Regions from separate parts of the Homo sapiens genome. Here all the other regions are linked to region 3. The links are contacts of gene promoters, found by promoter capture Hi-C in blood cells and fetal thymus (Javierre and others, 2016). All regions are on one chromosome and are shown on one strand. Each heading gives the region's core, a stretch centred on a gene start or on the middle of the fragment in contact. The rest is flanking DNA. Distances are from core to core; before and after follow the strand shown. Region 1 overlaps FLI1 (Fli-1 proto-oncogene, ETS transcription factor). Region 2 overlaps ETS1 (ETS proto-oncogene 1, transcription factor). Region 3 holds the start of PRDM10 (PR/SET domain 10).

The links. Contacts are between HindIII fragments. The CHiCAGO score rates a contact against its expected background, and 5 or more counts as called.
Region 1: a contact is called between a fragment that was not itself captured here and the fragment with the promoter of PRDM10 in region 3, in 1 of 17 cell types (neutrophils). The highest score is 6.4, in neutrophils.
Region 2: a fragment that was not itself captured here is called in contact with the fragment with the promoter of PRDM10 in region 3 in 1 of 17 cell types (neutrophils); the score reaches 6.1 in neutrophils.

The regions. Positions count from the first base shown.
Region 1 is chr11:128,729,496-128,732,656 of GRCh38, forward strand. The region is part of intron 1 of FLI1 (Fli-1 proto-oncogene, ETS transcription factor); the gene reads left to right. Among named protein-coding and RNA genes, the nearest start is that of SENCR, 35 kb to the left of the region's middle. The HindIII fragment of the contact is 3,055 bases long and covers 1-2,804 here.
Region 2 is chr11:128,518,506-128,521,489 of GRCh38, forward strand. All of the region lies in intron 3 of ETS1 (ETS proto-oncogene 1, transcription factor), which reads right to left. Among named protein-coding and RNA genes, the nearest start is that of MIR6090, 2.4 kb to the right of the region's middle. The HindIII fragment of the contact is 2,871 bases long and covers 275-2,984 here.
Region 3 is chr11:130,001,421-130,004,600 of GRCh38, forward strand. PRDM10 (PR/SET domain 10) reads right to left here and starts at 1,415. Exons shown (of 21, transcript NM_199437.2): 1 at 1,302-1,415. PRDM10-DT (PRDM10 divergent transcript) reads left to right here and starts at 1,204. Exons shown (of 1, transcript NR_024233.1): 1 at 1,204-3,180. RefSeq lists silencers at 449-628, 659-708, 719-1,038, 1,749-2,138 and an enhancer at 1,549-1,638. The HindIII fragment of the contact is 10,759 bases long and covers 1-1,800 here.

The DNA of each region.
Region 1 (3,161 bases), core at 27-2,526, 1.3 Mb before region 3:
AAGAGGTGGGAAAAGAAAAGGATCAGAGTGGAGGTATGTGAGGCATATGGCACTGCCCGGGGGAAACACGAGTGCACCAAGCAGGCTCCAGAATGAACTCAGGACTCAGGACAACTGAGGTCCCCTTTTGCTCCCTTTGGTGTCCTTTTACCAGTCGTCATGTACACTAAATCAATGCACATACCTGTCACCCCTTTTTAAAAGGATGGCAACCAGATCATTCACCTCTCCTTCCCCATTCCAAGAGCCCGGTTCTTGAGAACCAGGCTGGAAGAGCATGTCCCAGGTACTGGCTGGTGGGACTGTGGAGATGGGAAGCATTTTGACCTTGTTCTCCAGAATGATTTTTGCTAAAGAGATGCTTATTTTTTCAAAATGCAATTCTATAACTTTAATGCCTTTTCAGAACAGAAGAACTGCACCTTTTAGGCACCATGTTGATTAAGTGGCCCTGTGTTAGGGAGTGCTCTGAGGAAACTATGTTGATCTGGCATTTGACCTTGAAACATTTCTAATATCAGAACACAAAGTTCATTCATGTTGCCAGAGCTAGCCAACTGAGTTAGCAAGGGAAGTTTCAGGAAACAGAAAAGTCGAAAATCTTGAAATCTGGATTCTTTCTGTTCTCAAGTCCCACTCTGATTTGTATATTATCACCACCTTGACTATGCCTACCTTGTATTGTGCATTTGTTAAGTGTGTACTGTGTTAAAAACTTTACTTATATCCTCTCATTCCATCCTCACAACCCTATTTTACAGATGAAAACTGGAATCTCAAAGAGGTTTCCTAATTGGCTGAGGTCACCCAGACTGCGGGTGTAGGCCACACGTTTACGCTCACCTTTGTGGGTCAGCCTCTCAGTAGCTGCGCTGCTCATCCTATTCATTTCTGTGCTTACTCAATAGGGAGAAGAGCTGGGTAAGGAGCAAATCGGTGCTACTAAAGTCAGGCTCAGTATCAAGAACATGCATTCTATTCTAGAATGCTGATAAATACACTGGCAGTCCCAGAAAGTCACTTCCAAAGCAGTAAAGAAGGGCTCTGGAACAGACACATGTTTTCATTTCTTTTTGAAGGCTTCCCTTTGAGAACAAAGGTGGTCTGTGGTGCTGGGCCCTTCAAGCCCTGACACCCACTCCTTTTGTCTCTGCCTCTTGGGATCTTGGGAGAGCTACACCAAGGGCTGCGTGATGGATACACCACGAAGGGGTGTATTTATTTATTTGCCAGGGAAATGTATTAGGGAGAAGCAAAGACTAATTAATGATTTTCAAGGGAAACTCAATCTATGGAATGAATGGTTTTCCCAATGGGCTGTATTTAGAGGCTCACAGAAATCCTGCATGCTTCCATTGCCGTTTCCCATCCTTTCTTAGCCTTTGCTGAATGTGTCCGGAAATCTTTTGCAAAAGAAAAGGCACCAGTCTGTTTGCCTTGAAAATGAAGAAACCAAAAGGTGTAACATCCTTCTTCCTTCTCAGGTGGAGTAGTTAATTTTACAAGTGCTTCGAGAGGTCCTGAGGAAAAGGCACATGCCATCATGTCCTCTCCCCGTGAAAGAAGTTCATAATAATCTGTGCAAAACAGCACCTTTGGATAAGTTCAATGTGGCTATATATAGACGCTTGGCCGTTTCCTGTTGCTCTTGCAGCTTGCACAGGTTTGAAGGTAGGGTGAGGCTGTGACCATAAGCCACACGGTGACATGTACATTAGCCATGCCCTCTGCTTCCTGTGCTGCTTATGACCTGGGCTGGACTAACCCCAGCACTGCTCAGGGGCAGGGAGCCCTTAGGACCTAAATGTGGGGGGGTTGGTGAGTTTGCTCTCATCTTCTCTGAGCACAGGTTGCCTGGCTGCAGATAGATGGTGCAAAACACACCAGCGAGCCAGTGTGCTTGTCTAACGGTCTGCTCGTGTAACTTTTGCACCACAAAACAAGAGGTCAAGTATGAAAGGGTGGTTAACAAATTGAGCAGCCCTTTTTTTTTTCTGTTAAAGGGGCCGTGTCAGAAAAAACAAACAAAAAACAAAAACAAAACAAAAAACAAAAATAAAACAAAAAACAAACAAAAAAACCCTTCCTGAGTGAACTTGCATGAAAAATCATTTGGCAAAACCCAAAGTTCATAGCCATGTGCTGAAAAGCCATCATGCTAGAAACGGTCATCGTGATTTGACCTCAGAACCGTCTCCTATTTTAAGATTTCAAAATGCTTAAGTAGATGGGGCGCAGCGGCTCAGGCCTGTAATCCAGCACTTTGGGAGGCGGAGGCGGGCAAATCACTTGAGGTCAGGAGTTCGAGATCAGCCTGGCCAACATGGCAAAACCTTGTCTCTAATAAAAATACAAAAATTAGCTTAGTGTGGTGGCACACGCCTGTAATTCCAGCCACTTCGGAGGCTGAGGCAGGAGAATCACTTCGAACCGGGAGGCGGAGGTTGCAGTGAGCCGAGATCGTGCCACTGTGCTCCAGGCTGGTGGACAGAGCGAGACTCCATCTCAAAAAAAAAAAGAAAAGAAAAGAAAAGAAACAAAAATTGCTTAACTAGACATGTCATGCAATTTTGGAGAAGAGATGAGTGGTAAATGTGACTCCAGCTTTACTAAACAGTGAAATAAATTAAGGCACCAAAGCATGCTGAGCCTTGTCTAAAATCCTATAGCAGAAGAGGCCAGAAAAAAATTCACTGGTTCCCTTCTTTCTCCATCCATTCAGCCAATCAGTACCAGATTATTCTCCAGCTATCTTCCCCCCTTCTCATCTAGGACATCTAAGGTAGAACCGTGCATCTTAAAAAAGCTTTTCAGGAAATTCTGATGGGCAGACAGAACCAACGTGAGTCTATGTCATTTTGACTCTCATGTTCTATATGGGCTGCTAAATAAAAACTTTGAAAGTCTTTCATGTGACAAATAGTTTTGGAGTGCATACTCTGCCAGGCATTGTGCTAAGTCCTTGGGGACACAGGTGAACAAAACAGAGGAAGACCCTGCCTCCATTGAGTGTAGTCCAATGGGAGAGCGACACAAATCACACTTTTGCATAGGTGAATATCTAATTATACATGTGGTAGGTATTATGAAGAAAAACTAGAGTGCTCTGAGAAAGACGTTAAGGCCGGATAGATACAAGCCTGGGATTGGAGAAGTCAAGG
Region 2 (2,984 bases), core at 460-2,959, 1.5 Mb before region 3:
CATTTTATAGATGCAGAAGCTGGAGCACAGAGAGATTAAGTCATTTGTCCAAAGTCACACAGCTGCTAAGTGGCCGAGCTGAGATTCAAATCCAGACAGGCTGGCTCCAGAGTCTCTGCTCTGAACCATAGAGCTCTTTAGTCTCTAATGGAGTATGGTCGGCGGGGATCTGGGAGCACAGTGAGCAAGTGATCTAATAGACTGGGCAGCTCTGCCCTTCTTTCTTGTCTACACTGATGAAGAAACAAAGACTGACCAAGCTGAGCAAGGACAAAGCTTCTTCCTATCTCTAAGTATAACGCATGTTCCCGATGGATGTACACCCTCTGCTGAGGGCGGGTGGGGTGAGAGGCTGATCCTTTTATTCTTATAGAACAGCAAGTATCCAGGATTAGAGCTCCTGCTCTTATCTGGACATTAAGCTCACCTCACCAAGAAGGTAGAGCAGAGTGTTGAAGGAAAGGAAAAATTAAGTGGCTTGGGAATGTGTTGGCTTTGGCACCTGGCCCCTTCACAGCAGGCTCCACCAGGAGAGAACCAGGAGTGAACCCAATGGCTATATTTGTTTTTAAGCTATTTAAGATCCTTGCAATCACACTGTTGCAATCAAATAGCATATCCCACCTTACTCTTACACTTGCAAGGAAAAGTCAATTCTACTGTTATTTCAGAGTATATGTTAATTTAGCACTTAACGCTGTCAAACTCCTGTGAAGTCTCAAAATAGAATAAAAGTGCATAAAGGTTCTTGGTCAGGTCCTAGCCAGGAAAACAAATAATCCAGGTCTTGCGGCTCCTGTTTGGACACCCCACTTTCTTACTGCCTCTCTTTGGCACTCATGAATTTGGGAGGGGGTGGGGAGAAAATTCTGGTTTAATCATTTAAGCCAGATAAGATCCCACACTAGCTGTCTCCACACATAAGAAACTAAGCAACCCAAAGAAATCATTCTGACAAATATTTAAGTCACAGCTGTGGATAAAAAGCTACGCTGTGAGAAGTTAAACTTTAAACACATGTCCTATATGGTCTGATGGGCAAGGCAAATCCGCACTTAGCCAATGTCTTGTCCTTCCACTAACAAAAGCAGACAGCCCTGGCCAGAAACACCGTTTCTCCCATCCTTGCTTTGCACCTGCAAGTTAAGTCTCAGCTGAGGTTTCTTTGCTGAGCTTTTGGAAGGTATCTTGCAACATTACTCAAAGCAATATACATTGCGAAGTTAGAAACAGGAATTGATTGTACTTCAGCCACTGGCTCACTACATATTTTTATGTCAATTATTTACCTTTCCTGTGACTCTATTTTCCTCTCTGAGGTATGGGCATAATGTTCGCATATAAGCAACTAAAGGTCCAGAAAAAAAAAAGTTGATTATAGTCTATATATTTTTTCAAGTTTTTGTCTTTATTTTTTCCAAGATAATAAATAATGGTGCTAGAAATCAAACCTCTTTACAATGAATGGCAGAAGACTGCCCAATTTCTTTGGCCAGTTGAAATTTTGTTGTATCGAAGTTCACATACAAAAGATGACCAATGGCTTGGAAATCTTTTTTGAAAAAGAAAGCCATTGCAAATATGCTTATTATAATGGACGCTGACTGTAGCGTTAGGCCTTATTGTTCCCATTTTACAGAATAGAAAGCTAAAGAAAGTTACTTGCCCAGAGCTTATTTTTAATCAGTAACTGAAATGACGGCACCATATACATTGTCTCTAATATTTAATATTAAATTACCAAAAAAATTGCCTCAGCTGTTCACTGTGATCTGAAACATGTGTTGCCAGGGCTCTTTTTCATTCCCAGGATGAAAGATCCCTTGTAGGTATGTGGACTGACATATCGACACGATATTTCCCAGATGACCAAATCTGTCTCTTCCCCCATAAACACCCATAACAACACATATAAACAAGCTGTTCTTAAGGAAAGGACCTATTAGTTGAGTTTATATCTTTGATGTGAACTATCTTTTCACTTCTATATATGGTTTCAATCAACTGACAAACAGAACTCATTCTAGCTTCCTCGAACCCCCAAACACAACCATCATAGAAACAGCATTTCTGAATTGTAGGCCTAAGTGCCTTAAATGTCTCCATGGTTCCAGCTGCGCTCTCAGCATTGCTCCCACCACCATCATCCTTGCGAGGAGACAAAATCTCAGCCTTCTGTGCACAGCAGCCCTGGAGCTGAATGTCAGGGGACCCAGAGGGAGGGGACGTGACCTACATGTCTTTATTAATATTTCTGAAGGACCTCAGAATGACAAAACATCAGTATGGTTGTGCTGAAAGTTTAAGCAGCGTAAGAAAGGGTTAAAGTAAGCAATAAATTATGGCAGAGGCAAAGAAGTGTTAACCACAGGGGGCAGCAACTAAACTTATTGATAATCAGATACAACAGAGGAGCCTGTTCTTGAAATTAATTATTTTCCAGGGTGCACTGCCTTCTCCCTAGATCTTTCTATATACTTTCACCTCCAAAATCACTCATCTCTAAGGATAGCTGGCAGTGCCTTATCCTAAAAGAAAGCATCTTTCCCTCTCAAACTACATTTGTTTCAGAAATTCTGTAAGGCCAGACTCTCTTAAGTTGCTTAGCACCAATATTTGTGTCAAAGACAAAAAAAAAAAAAATTACTTCCTATCCTTCTCTTCTTCAAATGCATATAAATGAAAGAGTTGGACAACACCATGTACCAAAGACACAAAGTCACATTTGGGTGTTTGATGCTTTCCTTCCAACGGACCTTTGGTACCAGAAGAAAAATTTATGGCAGATTAGAAACATGGGTAAAGTAAGTAACCTACATGAATAGGGTCGGACGTTTCTCAAAGTTAAGAGGATAATTTCAATTCTCCTCCGATCTCCTTACCCTCAACCCAGAAAAGAGGGGCAAGGCATGTGACAGGGACGCTTGGGGAGGCAAGACCTTATTTGAAAATCTGCCTGAAGGCCAACCCGTTAGACTGCCCGG
Region 3 (3,180 bases), core at 165-2,664:
AGTACTGCTAAGTTTAGAGAATTTGGGGTGACGAGACAGGCAAGGTTTCAACAGGCAAAGCAGCAGAATTAGGGCACAGGGCAGAGCTGGGTGGGTCTCATCACACATCTAATCCTCGATGACAGCACAAAGCCACCTCTCCTTGTGCTTAAGTGTACACGCACATTGATTGAAAATGCACTAAAATCCAACTCATCCACCAAGCAAGGCTAAAGGCGCGCACACAAATTCAACAGCGCTGCGTTCGCGTGGCTGGAGGGCAGACGGGGAATATTCCATTTTACTTAGTAGAGTATCAACACCTAGCTGCAGGGTTAAACCTGCTTAACAAAAGCTGGCGAGGGGCTGGAGAGGTGCACACCATCAGCCCTCTCCCGAGCGCCGACCGGCCTCGCCCTGCCTCTGCGCTGCACCCTGGGTGCAGGCGGACTGGGGCAGGGCCGCGACCCCGGCCTCGGCCTCCGCCTCCGCCCGGCCAGCCCCGACGCGGTGCCACGGGACAGACCCGCAGGGGCCACCCCACACCCCTGCGGGCCGGCCCCCCGCCCCGGTCCCGGACGCTAGCTTGGGAAGGCAGGCCGGGGGCCCAGCCATCGATGGCAAGTGGGCGGCGCGGCCTCCGCAGACAAAGCTGGGCGCCCCATCGAACAGGACCCTCCGCCCCACGCGCCCGCAACCGGCCAGCCCCGGAGCCCTGCCCGCACTGCCACCCCCAGCCCGGCGCCCGGCCCCCAGCCCCCGGTGCTCGGCTCCCGGCCGGCGGAGACCTGCCCGCCGCGCCCGGAGCGCCCGCGCAACCGCCGCCGCCGGAGCGCGCAGGCCGCCCAACCGCCGTCCCGGCCCAACCAACGCGGGCAGGGGAGGAGAGGTGCGCGCGGCCGGCGGAGCGTGCGAGCCACTCGGGGGTCGCAGGGGGAGGCTGCGCGCGGCGAAGGCAGGGGCGACGAGACGCCGAGGCCGGCGCTGAACGCGGCGCCAGGAGGGCCTGCTGGAGGGGGCCTTGCCCTCTTCCCCTTGGAAGGTGCAGATGGTTTGACCCCCCACCCCGAGTGAGGTGCCTCGTCCCAGCCCCGGCTGGACTGTACCATCGGGCGGTGCCGCCGGGATTTCTCCCCCCCACCACCACCATCAATTCCCCCCCCACCCGGGTCCGCGGTCGGTTGGCCCCGGCCGGGCTCTGAGACGCGGAAAGAGCTGGGCGCCATTTTGGGTGGGACTAAGCAAAGACGAAACACCCTCCCAGTCTATGGGGTAGTCTGGACCCTGGCTTATCTGGTTCCCTTAATCCTTTAGGTACTTACACGACGTTGGGTGAGGGGAGCTGGAAGATCAGCGGGTCCCCGATCCTCTCTCCCTAGGGGTGATAGAAATCAACCCCCCCCGCCACCTCCAGGTGGTTCTTCCCGCCGCAGAGTGGGAGCAGCATAAAAGGCGGGGTCTTATTAGCATAATCTGCCTGGCAACCTGATCTCGACGTTATATGATTGGTTAAACTCTGTAAGCCCCATGCCGTGCCTAGAGACGAGAAACGCTGGGGCGAACTGACAGGCCCAGATTTAGGAGTCATGACGAAGATCCTGAGACGCTTATTCAGTCTGCAGAGAAGCCAAAAGGAGATTCACATAATGGCCCAATGACTGAAGGCCTCTTTATTTCGTGCTCTGCTGTTCGTGTAAAACCCAATCGCAGAGCGGGTCTCAGGCGGCGCTCGCCTGCGTTTCTACTCTCAGCCAATCAGAAAACCCGACTCTTCGCATTGGGGTCAAGCCCCCGCTGCGGCCCGCGTGCTAACGGGGAGGAAGCTTCCAGCTGTGCCTGGGTGTCTCGGGCGCCGAGGGCAGCCTGCGCCCGTGCTAAGCCCGCCTCCCGCGCGCCCGAGGGCCCGGTGTCCCGGAAGACGCGCGGGGGTGAGGCGGCCCTCGCGTCCGCCCGCCCCGCCACAGATTGCCTCCGAAGTGGCCTGGCCGTGGAGCGCCGGCGAAAACCGAACTCCCGCCCGGCTCCCGGAGTCGGGAGCCTGCCGGGGTCTCGCCCTCAGGACCCCCAGGGAGCGGCCGGGCGCCGCCTATCACCCTGACCCACCGCACCTTGAGAGCGCTTTCACTGCGCCTCTTTTTTCTCCTCTACCAATCTGGAAAGGAAGTGAGTGTCATTTCAGACATTGAGAAACATTATTCAACACTGGTTACCCAGTGACTCAGCTCACTCCTTAACCGCAGGCTTCCACATCCTGCTGTCCCTTAAAATTGCCTTCACAAAGGGCAGCCAAGAGCCCAGCTTTGGAGAGATACCCAGCTCCAACTACCCACTGGCAGGCAATACGCAGGGCAGCTAGATGGCAGAGAGACCTTGGACCTTCGGACCTTCGGGGAGCGGTTTTCCCTTCGGTGATATCTACCTTGCTATGTTCGTGATATCTACCTTGCTACGTTATTTTGAAGATTAAGTGAGCTCTTACTTTACCGAGTAAAGTGCTTTGCTTAGCACACTGTCTGGAACTTAAATGAGAAGTACTGACAATATAACTTACAAAAATCCTAAACTATTGCCTGAGAAAAAGAGGGAGACAGGACAGCTAAGCAAAAGACGAGAATAGAAAACACCCACAGCGTGAAAAACTGTAAAATTAACTCAATAGTATTCTCTTTACTGTTTTTTGTTTTGTTTTGTTGTTTTGTTTTTTGATACGGAGTCTCGCTCTGTTGCCCAGGCTGGAGTGCAGTGGTGAGATCTGGGCTCATTGCAACCTCTGCCTCCCGGGTTCAAGCGATTCTCCTGCCTCAGCCTCTCTAGTAGCTGAGATTACAGGCATGCACCACCACGCCCGGCTAATTTTTGTATTTTCAGTAGAGATGGGGTTTCCCCATGTTGGCCAGGCTGGTCTCAAACTCTAACGTCAAGTGATTCTCCCGCCTTGGCCTTCCAAATTGCTGGGATTACAGATGTGAGCCACTGCGTCTAGTCTACCATTTTGTTTCTTTAAATAGCTGGAAACAACGTGGAAAGAAAAGAGAGCTTTTTTTTTTTTTTAAACTTCGTGACAGGGTGCGGTGGCTCACGCCTGTAATCCCAGAATTTTGGGAGGCCGAGGCGGGTGGATCGCTTGAGCACAGGCGTTCGAGACCAGCCTGGGCAACATAGTGAGACTCTGTACAAAAAACAAAAAGATTAGCCAGGCAT